Regions from separate parts of the Homo sapiens genome. Here regions 2 and 3 are each linked to region 1. The links are contacts of gene promoters, found by promoter capture Hi-C in human tissues and cell types (Jung and others, 2019). All regions are on one chromosome and are shown on one strand. Each heading gives the region's core, a stretch centred on a gene start or on the middle of the fragment in contact. The rest is flanking DNA. Distances are from core to core; before and after follow the strand shown.

Evidence for each region. Contacts are between HindIII fragments. The study calls those that stand out against the background at their distance.
Region 2: a fragment that was not itself captured here is called in contact with the fragment with the promoter of OR4M2 in region 1 in 2 of the 25 tissues and cell types used here (bladder and spleen).
Region 3: a contact is called between a fragment that was not itself captured here and the fragment with the promoter of OR4M2 in region 1, in 8 of the 25 tissues and cell types used here (adrenal gland, aorta, bladder and 5 more).

Annotation. Positions count from the first base shown.
Region 1 is chr15:22,077,753-22,082,222 of GRCh38, reverse strand. It overlaps OR4M2 (olfactory receptor family 4 subfamily M member 2), which reads right to left and starts at 1,696. Exons shown (of 1, transcript NM_001004719.2): 1 at 613-1,696. The coding sequence starts at 1,598. The coding sequence ends at 657. The region is part of intron 7 of OR4M2-OT1 (OR4M2 overlapping transcript 1); the gene reads right to left. The HindIII fragment of the contact is 6,887 bases long and covers 1-4,470 here.
Region 2 is chr15:22,029,293-22,033,344 of GRCh38, reverse strand. OR4M2-OT1 (OR4M2 overlapping transcript 1) reads right to left here. Exons shown (of 9, transcript NR_110480.2): 4 at 2,325-2,419. It also overlaps the pseudogene OR11K1P. Among named protein-coding and RNA genes, the nearest start is that of OR4M2-OT1, 41 kb to the right of the region's middle. The HindIII fragment of the contact is 4,215 bases long and covers 539-4,052 here.
Region 3 is chr15:22,123,479-22,127,448 of GRCh38, reverse strand. It overlaps the pseudogene OR4N3P. Among named protein-coding and RNA genes, the nearest start is that of OR4N4, 31 kb to the right of the region's middle. The HindIII fragment of the contact is 6,844 bases long and covers 1-3,970 here.

The DNA.
Region 1 (4,470 bases), core at 447-2,946:
ATAAAAATTGTTTTCATAATGTGATAAAATTTTGAGTTCTGTCTCCAAACTGTTGAATAGACACCACCTGAAATATAAACTGAAATACCTTTATAAGGTATTTCAGTTTATAAGTTGATGGAAAATCCTCATTTTCCATCAACTCTGGAAATAAGAGGAGATAAAGGACAAATAATCTGTTTTTCCAGACCCAGCAAGATGTTGACCAGATACCATTCCACTGAGCCAACACTGAAACATGACAACAATATTTATTTGCTAACTTGAAGCTAGCTGCATCCATATGCTTGCCATTTACTTCATATTTGTAATAGACACGTCTCATGTCTTATTTATTTTTCTCAACATGTTCCCGTCAAAGCCAGAGCCTCTGCAGAGTACTCAATAAACAATTAGTTAAAATGTACTTTAGCAGATTATTATATCTCAAATTCTAATAATGATCTGTTGGGAATTTCAGGGTAGGTGTGAGTAAATTTATTTTCATCTTAATGCCTCTATTTTTTCAATATAAAGAGGAATGAATAGAGAAAAATTATAGTAAAATTTTAATAACACAAATGAAAGGAGGAAGTCAATGCAGCATTATTACTGCAAATACTTCCTGCTTTAGGACAATGATCCTCAGGGGAACTATAAAATGTATAATTTATCTTTCACTTCTCTTTACACAAAATATATTTGGTGACCAACTTCCTCATGGCTGCCTTTACTTCCTTGTTTCTCAATGTGTAAATAATGGGATTACGTAAAGGGAATATTAAAGTATTGAACACAGACACCACTTTATCTAGGGAAAACGAGTCAAATGGGCGAGCATAAATGTAGATGGATGGCCCAAACATTAGCACCACAATGGTAATGTGGGAATAGCAGGTGGACATGGCCCTGTTGGTATTCTCACCTGAGCCTGAAAGTTTCTTGAACAAGGCCAGAAGGAAGGCATAGGACATTAACAGAGCAATCAAACACACCACAGAGATCAGACCACTACTACAGATCATCACTAACTCCTCTGGGAAGGTGTTGGCACAGGCAATCCGGACAACCTGTGTGATGTCACAGAAGTAACTGTCTAACTCATTGGGCCCACAGAAAGGAAGTCGAACAATGAGAGCCACCTGTATGATAGAATGAATGAAGCCCCCCCTCCAGGAGAGAGCCACCAGGATACAGCAGAGACGTTGATTCATGATGGTAGCATAGTGGAGGGGTCGGCAGATAGCAGTGTAGAGGTCAAAGGCCATCACTGTGAGCAAGAACATCTCCGAAGCCCCAGCAAAGTGTAAGAAGAAGAGCTGTGCAATGCATCCATCAAAAGAAATTATCTTCCTCTCCACAAAGAAGTCTATGAGCATTTCAGGGGCTGTAATGGAAGAGTACCAAATATCAAGGAAGGCCAGATTAGCCAACAGGAAATACATAGGAGAGGTCAGATGAGGGTCTAGACTGATGGTGCAAATGATAAGGATATTTCCTGGTAGGATGAACAAATAGAAGGATAGAAATATAACAAATAGGACTAGTTGGACCTCTGGAGTCTGGGATAGGCCAGTGAGAACAAATTCTGTCACCTTGGTGTAATTTGCAGTTTCCATTTCTTCAATTTACTCTTTTCATAATATAGCTATGAAAATTAAGAAACTATAATTAGTAGACATAGCATTTACCTAGAGTTATATCACTGCTTTCAAAATTGTCATACGTTCCCTGTCACTAACAGATTACACGAGGATACATTTGGTTGCCCATTTTATATCTGATAAACCAAGAGGGAGAGAGTATGTGATGAAGTTACAAATTGGAAACATTAAAACTATATGAAGTGTGGCATATATTTGAAACTCAAATCTCAGCTTGTTAATGTTAAAAACTTACTTTTTCTGAAATTTGGCAATGCACTACTTCTTCCCCCAAACATCTACATTAGTAAGCAATATGTGAAGCTACTTCTGAGTGTAGCCAAATTTTAGACTGGCAATCAGAGATGTGGCCTCTTTTTTCTATATCTTTTTTTTTGTTGGGAAATCTTGCCAACTTGGAAACTTAGGCTTGCATTCTAATAGCACACACACAGATCTAGCAGTACTTTAGTTGTGATACAGAAAAGAGATCCCAAGGCTTCATAAGTAGTGAAGGGACATATTTTTCCGTAACTGTAACCAAAACCTGTACAGCTTAATCCTTGGTAACAGGTAACCAGCCACAACATACAGCTATGCAAGGCCCTATATAAAAAATTCTTCTAGCTGTGACCAGATTCATCAATACCTGATACTACATTGAGTATAAAATTTGCTCACCACAGCAGGAACGTAAGTAGGTGTACTGATCTGAGAAATGAGTATGCTTGCTACCCAATTTGATTCTGAGCTGATCTGCTCTGCTGTTTCAAGGTGACAATGGGAATAATATTATTTTTAAAATTTTGCTTACTGCCCTGTATTGAATCTGACACCACTAATAGCACAAAACTTGTCAAATAAAAATGAAATAACAGTTCACATTACCAAATATGCTTTTCTTTAAGTAAGGTTAAAAACTGCCACACCAAAGTAAGTTTTGTTGTAACCAACAGCAAATACAAGAGAGTTGTTTCTTTTCTGTTGATGTGATATTTTATGATATTGCCTCTCCTATTACTTAAAAAAATTAAATATGAAAAGGAATTTTTAAAAAGTTAAGGTTCTGTAAAACCAAATAGACGTGGCTGTGTCCAAACACTTATGGGCACTATGTATACTACTGAGAAAAGAAATTAAATGCGCCATTTTTGGAACCTACTGACTCAATTTACACATAATTTTAACAAACATAGATAAATGACTTTCAATATCTTATAGAAGCATTGTATTTTGAAAAAGGGATGGCTTACTACAAGCAGACACACACACATAAAACCAGTGTTTTCCAGGAATCTGGTAGCAAGCGGAAGAAAGGTAAAAATACTCAGAAATTGAATAGTGTGGGACTATTTAGAAAAGGGATCAATTTCCCCTTGTCCATAAATTGCCCAGTGTGGACCTCAGTGAGTTAATGAAGCATATTTAATAAGATTGAAAAATTTAAAATTTGGTTTAGGAAGATTTTAATCAAAAGAAAGATAATAAGGTTATCCAGAATGAAATATTTCCTAACATTCCAAGAAACAATGATCTTATTGTACTTACCTGGAGGAGGCAGCTCATAGCCCTCATAACTAATAACACAACATTGTGTTATTAGTTATGAGGGCTATGAGCTAGTTATATACTAACTCATTTACATTCACTGATAAGTCAACTATGAGGTTCCAACAATCAAATAAATTTCTAACAAAAGCATCTGAAATATTATGATTACTCAGCTCATTTACATATTTTGCTATAATGCTATGTAGTTTTTGACCAGATGGAAGCGATTATTTGTTCCTAAGTAAATAATTGTCCCTTTATTATTGAAAGGAGATGAATATTTTAAAGCAGTAAATACCATTACAAGATCATATGCTTTTTTATTATTATGGGGACATGATGCAATGATTCTGAGTGTCATCACACAAATCACCCCTTCTTCCTCTGCTCTACTCCATACCCATTCCACCAAAACAGAAGTAGAAAATGGCACTAATCTAGAAAGAATTTATGTGAATGAGTGTTGATGTCTTGAAAAGACAGACATACATCAGGTATTATGGAATAGAAAGGGTGATTTTACCAGAAAAAAGTGTCAAAGAGATTTTCTTTTGTACCTCAGTGTTCAACATATGACATAAAATTAGAAACTAATGATGTATATACTTTGCATTAAGAACCAAAATCAACCACATTTATTCCTTAGGACAAAAATACAAAGGATTCATCCCTCCACACTCCTTGATGAGTGTCTCTGTCCTCCACCCTTCACAAGTGTCAAGTGGAAAAGAAATATTTTGCTGGAGCATCTCAATCCAATAGTCAGGCAGCCAATCAAACCCCCTACTCCCAAAGCTAGTAATGCTCAGCCACTACTCATCACACACACACACACACACACACACACACACACACACACACACCACTACACCATGTCACTTCAAGGAAGAACAAGCACCTAGTTTCCCTACATTAACATAACCATTACCTAAAATACCATAAATGACGCAACAATTCTTATTCTGTCCAGCACTTGTCATTTAACACATGTCAAAACAAAGCTATCTACATGTGATATTAAAAAGTCTATTCCTAAATATATAGCTTCTGTGTCACTTCTGTAAACTATTCATTTGTTTATCCCACAAACATTTAGAGAGTATCTACTATATGCTACCTGCTGAGACACAACAATGAACAAGGAACACTCAATATCTGCCTCATCAAACTTCCATTCTGAAAATATAGACAGACAATAAATAAGTAAACAAATAAAAATAAAATAAAATATAAATAAGTAAAATAAAATAATTGCTACTAGTGCTAAAAGACAAGCAGGAAATAAAAAGGCAATGGT
Region 2 (4,052 bases), core at 1,397-3,896, 50 kb after region 1:
TTTTTGCAAAAATCATAGAAAATGTTTTCTTCTTGTCTTTGAGAAAACTAAAAATATATCTCAGAATGAAAAGCTGGCAAAGAATGAAGCTGAAAAATATAAGTTTTTCTTCTTGTTTCCCTGAAATCTGGAAAATATTTTCCAATTATGGTTCATATCCCTTTAAAATATGAATAGCCATTTATACAAAAAGAATAGTATTTCAAGTGAAGATGTATATTAACTGATGAATTGCTGGAGAAGGGTATATTTTGGCAATTTTTGTTACTTGGTGAGCAGAAGAAATATGGCATATTTCTCTTTCCAGCAATATTTTCTTTCTTAAGCCCAAATACTGATTTTTCAGTTCCATTACATTAATAAGACTTGGTATTATACAAATTAGTTATTATTTAAGAAACAAAAATCTTCAGCTCATATGACTTTTTCTTGTTTTTGTTGTTATTTGGGCTAGAAGTTAACCGGAGGGTAATCAGGCGAAAAGTTTTATGTTTCGGATTTGCCTAGATAGGAAAGGCCTCAGAAAACAACCACAGTGAGATGCAAAATAACACCAAAGGTCAAAGGAAGAAAAGGAACATGTGGAAGAAAGCAGTGAATAAAAAACATGGAAACTTTTGTAATATAAACTTTATCTGCCTTTCTTATTTTCCTGCAGCTGACTTGACCATGGTTAACAAAAAACAAGCACATTGAACTTGGCCACAGTCACGCAGACCAGCTGTTCTCCCTAAGGTCAATGTCATAATAGGCATATGAAGTTCTTACATTCACCTGGAAGCATATAAAAATATTTAGTCAGAGCAATTTAAGAGCCAAAGTATGGCACGCTTCCTCACAGCATATAGCGTATCCAGCTGCCTAAAAATGAAAGAATGTATTTTTTATGCTAAACATTGGTACAGATACATGAAACAGCATAAAAGACCATATATTCTCTAATGACAGAGTTCTTTCTTATTACCACTTTAAAACACTACAAGTAACCGGGAGTAGCTGAAATTGAAAGTAAATATTAATTTGTGCCCTGGCATGGCACTATATTGAGAAAGAGTATTTTTAAATATCTTGGTTTTGTATTTTATTTTTATACCACTAATAATAATGAATCAGGTATTCATAGTACTGTTGAAAGAACTACATACCCAGATAAATACAGTATCAATAATGCAGGTAAACAGAAGAAAGAGTAGACCCATTGTATATAGGTAATTTATTGGAATCACAAAATTTGCATTCCTGGTTTCAAGTCTAGTGTTCTTAGCAAGAAAAAAAACTCTCCACAATTCATATTTTCCCTTCTATTGTTGTGATTTATTAAAATAAACATGTGTAGGAATTGAGTCATGAAAGTCACAGTTTTGTTGTTTAAACAAAAGTCTAATTGTTTACTACTTTATAATATACATGATGAAGAATTTTGGTTGTTTCCAAGAAGAAACAGCACACTCCCTTTCATGTTTCAGTTACCTCTGCCATCTCCATGTCTTCCAGACTAATGAATGTGTTCAGCATGGAAACTATCAATTTTGTTAGCTGCCTTATCCTCATGGGCTTTCCCTCAAGCCCAGAAATGCAGCTCCTCTACTTCGGTCTCTTCTCAGTAGCCTATACTCTCACCCCGATGGGAAATGCAGCCATTGTCTGTGCTGTGTGGTAGGACCAGCACCTTCACACTCCCATGTACACCCTCTTGGGAAATTTCTCTCTCCTGGAAATATGTTATGTTACTGCAACTAAACTGCTGGCCAACTTCCTCTCCACAAGCAAGTCCATCTCATTCATGAGTTGTTTTGCACAGTTCTACTTCTTCTCTTTGGGGTATGATGAGGGCTTCTTCCTTTGCATCACGGCCTTTGACAGGTATCTTGCCATCTGCCGCCCTCTACGTTATCCATGCATCATGACTAAACAAGTATGCACTGGCCTCATCATTTTTGCATGGTCATGTGTCTTTGTAATCTTCCTAACTCTGGTGATTCTCATTTCACAGCTATCCTACTGTGGCCCAAATATTATCAACCATTTTATTTGTGATCCCGTCCCATTGAAGATGCTGTCCTGTTCTGAAGACATCATCATCACCCAGCTCATTTACTCCACATTCAATTCTGTCTTCATAATTGGCACCTTTCTCTTTATCCTTTGTTCCTATGCTCTGGTGATTCTGGCTATAATACGGATGCCTTCAGAGGCTGGCAAACGAAAAGCTTTCTCCACTTGTGCCTCTCATTTGGCAGTTGTCACCTTATTTTATGGCTCTATCATGGTGATGTATGTTAGTCCTGGATCAGCACACCCAGTAAAAATGAAAAAATCATTACCTTGTTCTTTTCTGTGATAACACCACTCTGTAATCCTCTAATATATAGTCTCAGGAACAAAGAGATGAAAGATTATCTGAGGAAAATCTTCAGGACTGGAAAAGATGTTAATAAAATATAAATAAGAGAATTTTCATTTATCAAATGTAACTTTATTATACATGAATATTTGTCTACAAATTTATTGTTTTATTTAAGAACTGCTATAATAATGAGCCATTAACATCTTAAACACCACTCACCACAATCTGCATTACTGTGGTCTTATTTAAGAATGTTTCAACAGTGAATTAGATTTTCTGTTGAAGTGAATAATACGTATGTAAAATTCTATGTCTATGCTAATCAGAACGTGTATATGTAACCCAACTTTTTAAAAAGAATGCAGACGTCCTTTTTGTATTACTGAGCTAAAGCAATTGGTAACACATGTGACAGATATCATAGACTGCTCTCACAATTAACACTATAATCCAATCATTATCCACTAAGAGATACTGGCTGAAAAAGAGCCAAGTTTTAAGTAGTCCAGCTTGTCAAAATGTAGCAAGTGGTCTTTACATTATATAAATAGACTAATAGCCTTAGTTTGATATTCAGTGTTTTTTCAGAGAGTACACAACCAAGAATTAGGAATTTAAAGCAGATTCGTTACCTGGAATATAGTGCAGCAAAGACCTAAACAAAAAGGTGAGCATTACTCAGGATATAGCTTTCTTTGTTGTAAACCCAGTTTAAACACAGGATTTGATACCATAACTAATTTAGTATTAATACTGTGTGACTTATTTGAGTACTGCTGGACAGTACTAAAATAAAACTCTTAAAATCCATTTTATAAAATATTTGACTAATATCTTGCTTTAATTTTGACTTTTGTTTCGTTCTATGCCATTTTTTCAAATACAACTCTCAAAAACTTAATGAAAAGGAATCACAATATGAAATGTAGTTTACAGAATTTTAATTTGTAAGCCATCATAGCTATTTGCTCCACAAAATGAGGTGCAACTGCAATTAGTTTTTGTGTCACAAGGAAGCTGAGTTGAGAATATTTTCTGGGTTTGAAAGGCAGGATTTATATGAGTTCTGGGGAAAAGAGTGGTTGTTTTATTATACCTCACATGTGAAATGTAAATTAAATAGCTAAATACTTGCCTGAAAACCTCTTTTATATAGGAAGAAAATACAAACAATTTAGAACTTCATTCAAACTGACTTCAACGGTGGGATCTCTTTAAAGTGCTGATAAATTTAACACTGAGTTTCACCTGTCCATGCCAGTTTTGTTTATATTTCTTAATTATATGAGAAAAAATGATAGAAATTCTTAATAAAATATAATCTCAACTGTTATAAATGTGCACAGTGCCCATATTTGTAATTATCTTCAAATTGATCATTAACCAATCTTATCTTACCAATATTAAATTCTATCTCATATTGAGCTTGCTGGCACTTGATAGAATGAATTGAAAACTATTAGATACAGTAAAAAGCATTTCCATAAGATACAAACATGCCTTCATTGTGACAATATCTCTTCCTCAGTTCATACCTATGGCTTCATGGTATTTCACACAACCAGCTAATAAATGAAGAAAGAGCCTCAGGCTTGGATCACAAATGGATTGTCTGAATCTACACTTAGACAAGATAAAAACTGACTAATGCTGCAGCTTAACGCCTCTCCAGAGTAGCCATAGAATGTAGTGGTGGAGGAAATCC
Region 3 (3,970 bases), core at 1,023-3,522, 45 kb before region 1:
TGGAATGGTTTCTTCTCTCTGACACAAAATCCTGATTGGTCTATGAAAAGACTGTCATTATTAAACTTACAGTGAAATCAATTGGCAATAAGGTCAAACATACAGCTAAAAGTCATAAAAATTTGCTAGGATTAATAATGAAGCTGCAGAAAAAAAAAGTAAAATTTTTTTTGATCTTTTTCAGTAAAAGTAACCAGCTTTCTTTTGCCACTCTCTGCTTACGTATGTAAGAAAAATTGGTAGTTTAATATCTTTCAAAGTGCACTTACAAATATAATATTTTCCTCTTAATGATATTTTTCAACTCTTTGATATCTGCATAGAATCTTGAGTTTACAGCCCTAAGTCATTTATGACCCTTCAGTAGAGGAATCACTCTTTTGCTTAAAGCCACAGAATGGCTTCTTATTGTAATTGTAATAAAATGAAAACTCACATTTACTATGTAGACCATATGTTTTTGACACTACCAGTATCTCTAACTTTAAGTTTAATCATTTTCACATTAAATTACTATATTCTTGGTAACATGGACTTTATTGTATTCTTCAAATATACCAAGTTCATCATCATCTTTGAGTTTTTGCACTGCCTGTGCCCTCTGTCTACCATACTATAGCCACAAAAGTTTGCATGTTTGGCTTCTTCAGTTTATCCAGATATGATCCAAAATGTCAGCTCTTCAAGGCCTTTTTTTATTATTAAACACAAATTGGTTACTCCCAATCCAGAGTCACAGTTTATCATTTCACTTTTCGTTTTAGTTTTTACAGAGCAGTATCTCTTCCTGAAACTATGCTGTTTATTTTCTACCTTAACGGCGGTCTATTTTTACTAGGTTGTATCTCTTGGAGAGCAGATAGACCTTATCTGCCTCAATACTTTCTTTCTTCAGTTCCTAGAATAGTCCTGACAAATGGGAGGTATTCAATGATTGCAGTACTTGGAAATAAACAAATCAATTTCAGATAAAATTCTACAGTCTATTTTTATTCTTTTTTTTTTTGCCCTTTTTCAGGCTATGTGTTTATTAAACACCTTTTTCATGGAAGCTTTCACTTCCTGGTTATGAAGGGTATAAATGACAGGATTCAACAAAGGAAGAATCACTGTGTGGAAGAGAGAAACCACCTTGTCGGCTGGGAAAGCCCTGAAGGGGCACGTGTAGATGAAGATGCCAGGTCCAAACATGAAGAATATAACAATGATATGGGTGGTGCATGTGGACATGGCCTTGTTTTTTGCCTCAGAAGAAGACGCTCGTATGCGACAAAGAATGACTGCATAGGAGGCCAGAAGTCCCAGAAAGCACATGAGTGTCATCAGGCCACTATTGAAGACCATCAGAAGCTCCACCACAAACATGTCGGTGCAAGCCAGCTTGATGACCTGTCGGACATCACAGAAGAAGTTGTCCAGCTGGTTTGGGCCACAAAAAGGCAAGCGGATGATGAGGACCACCTGGATAATGGAGTGGACAAAACCCCCAAGCCACAGAGCCAACATCATTGCATAGCAGGCTCTAGAGTTCATGACAGTTGAATACTGCAGAGGCAGGCAGATGGTGATGTAGCGGTCAAAGGCCATCACAACAAGGAGTAATCCCTCCCCTCCTCCAAGGAAGTGCAAGAAAAAGAGCTGAGTGATGCAGCCTCTGTAGGAGATTACCTTCTTCTCAGAGAGGAAGTCCACCAACATCTTGGGAGCCACAATGAAGGAGTAGGATGCATCCAGGAAGGCCAAGTTGCCCAGAAATAAATAGAGGGGGGCTGTGAGCCCAGGGTCTGACCTTATGGTGAAAATAATGAGAAAATTTCCAGGGAGGATGAAGAAGTAGAATATTAAAACTAGCACAAAGACCAGGAGCTAAATATCTCGAAACTGGGTCAAACGAAGGAGGATGAATTCTCTTATCACTGTTCTGTTCTCGCTTTCCATTTCCCTGGCCTGCAGTACATTAAGAAGCAGAATTAATTGTTATTGCTATGTCTTCCAACTAGATACTAGTTCTACAGCTAAAAAATATTTGGCACATATAGTACTTCAGCTAAAAACAACACTTCCCATCCCTCTCCTATTCTGGGGAAACTCCGTTACCTTAATTTCTCCAAATTTAAAATGAAAAATGAAAACAAAATATGGTTCTCAAAGCTACAGGTTTATTCCCATTCAACCATGTGCTTCTACAGAATCATTTTCCATGTTAGGAGTCTGGTATCCTCCACGTTGGGATTCCTACATTCCTAAATCATGTAAGTTTCCTAATGGAGACACAACCTAACTTCAAATCTGAAGGTCTTTGAGTTTTTTGGATATACTATGCTTGAGGGTTAGTTCTTTTCTTGGGATTAGACCCTTTTTCTCCTTGTCCACACCACCCCCAAATTTTCCTAGACATTTTCTTCCCTCAGTTCCTGTGTAATTCCCAGTTCCTAGCTGGTAACTCTCTTCCTTGCCCTCTGTCTTATCATCTAATTTACTTCTTATTATACTCCTTTTGGTCTGATATCCTTGAATACTCTTTTCCCAGACTGTTCACGAGAATCCCAAGCTATAGCTCCACTTTTGACCTAACACAGGCACAGTGCTCCAGCTGTAACTCTGTTTGAACACCACTCCTGTGGCCACTCCACACCTGCATGCAGCTTATTTAGCACTTTTTGAGTTTCAAATACTAATAAACTCACAACACATTTCTTTCTCTGTTCCAAGTATGACACCCAAGATACAGCCCTTTAACAAAAAATATGCTACAATATAAAATTTGCAAGTATAAAACTTTAAAATATCATTATCTCAACTCATAAGATCATAGCATAGATACACTGTAAGTAGCCATAAAGATACTGTAGTGTTATTCTTCCATTTCAAAGATGAGAAATAACCTGTAGTTATATTACTTAAGTTTAGAGTGAGTTTTATTTTTTGCTCTGCTTGATAAGTAGTAGGATAATGCAAGTGTATACTATTCAGTTTAAATAGATAAAGAATTTTTTAATCACAGCTTCAATGAATGAATGTTCTTTTTGTGCATCTGAATAACTAAAGATAATATTGCTAGTCTAAAATCACTCCCGTATTGCTTTGATTTGTAAGTTCAACCTTGTTTAAATAAAAAGAAAAACAATGTCCATTGTGAAGAAAATTCATATTTAAAATTCAGATTGTTTTCATGGGGTATACTCATTCCAGAAGGTGCACATGATAATCCACTGAAGTATAGAAAGAACATAGTAATTTATCTATATTTAGTCAGTGTATAACATTTTATATGTATCACTACATTTCATTCTTTTCTAAATTCACTTTTTAATATTTATAATGGATAACATAGTACAATGGTTTATATATACTTTATAAATAAATATGCATACATTTAAGGTTACATATTCAAAAAATGTCTTAGGGGAGTAAATTTTTTAAGTTTGAAAATTGTTGGCCTACAACAAAATACAAACTGTAATATAAAAGGATATTCTTAATATGATTTAACTAAACAGTGTATTTGTTTTAAATAAGTGCTCTAGCGGCCGGGCGTGGTGGCTTATGCCTGTAATCCCAGCACTTTGGGAGGCCAAGGCGGGTGGATCACGAGGTCAGGAGATCGAGACCATCTTGGCTAACATGGTGAAACCCCGTCTCTACTAAAAAAATACAAAAAAAATTAGCCGTAGTGGTGGTGGTTGCCTGTAGTCCCAGCTACTCAGGAGGCTGAGGCAGGAGAATGGTGTGAACCCAGGAGGCAGAGCTTTCAGTGAGCCGAGATCATGCCACTGCACTCCAGCCTGGGTGACAGAGCGAGACTCTGTCTCAAAATAAATAAATAAATAAATAAATAAATAAATAAATAAATAAGTGCTCTAGCACATGGGGTACGGAAGGAAGGGAAAATCTTTGACAGAAAATGCTACTGCAACAGTACCTAGAAAAGAAAGACAAGAAGATAGAGGATGAGGGAAGAAAGAAGAGA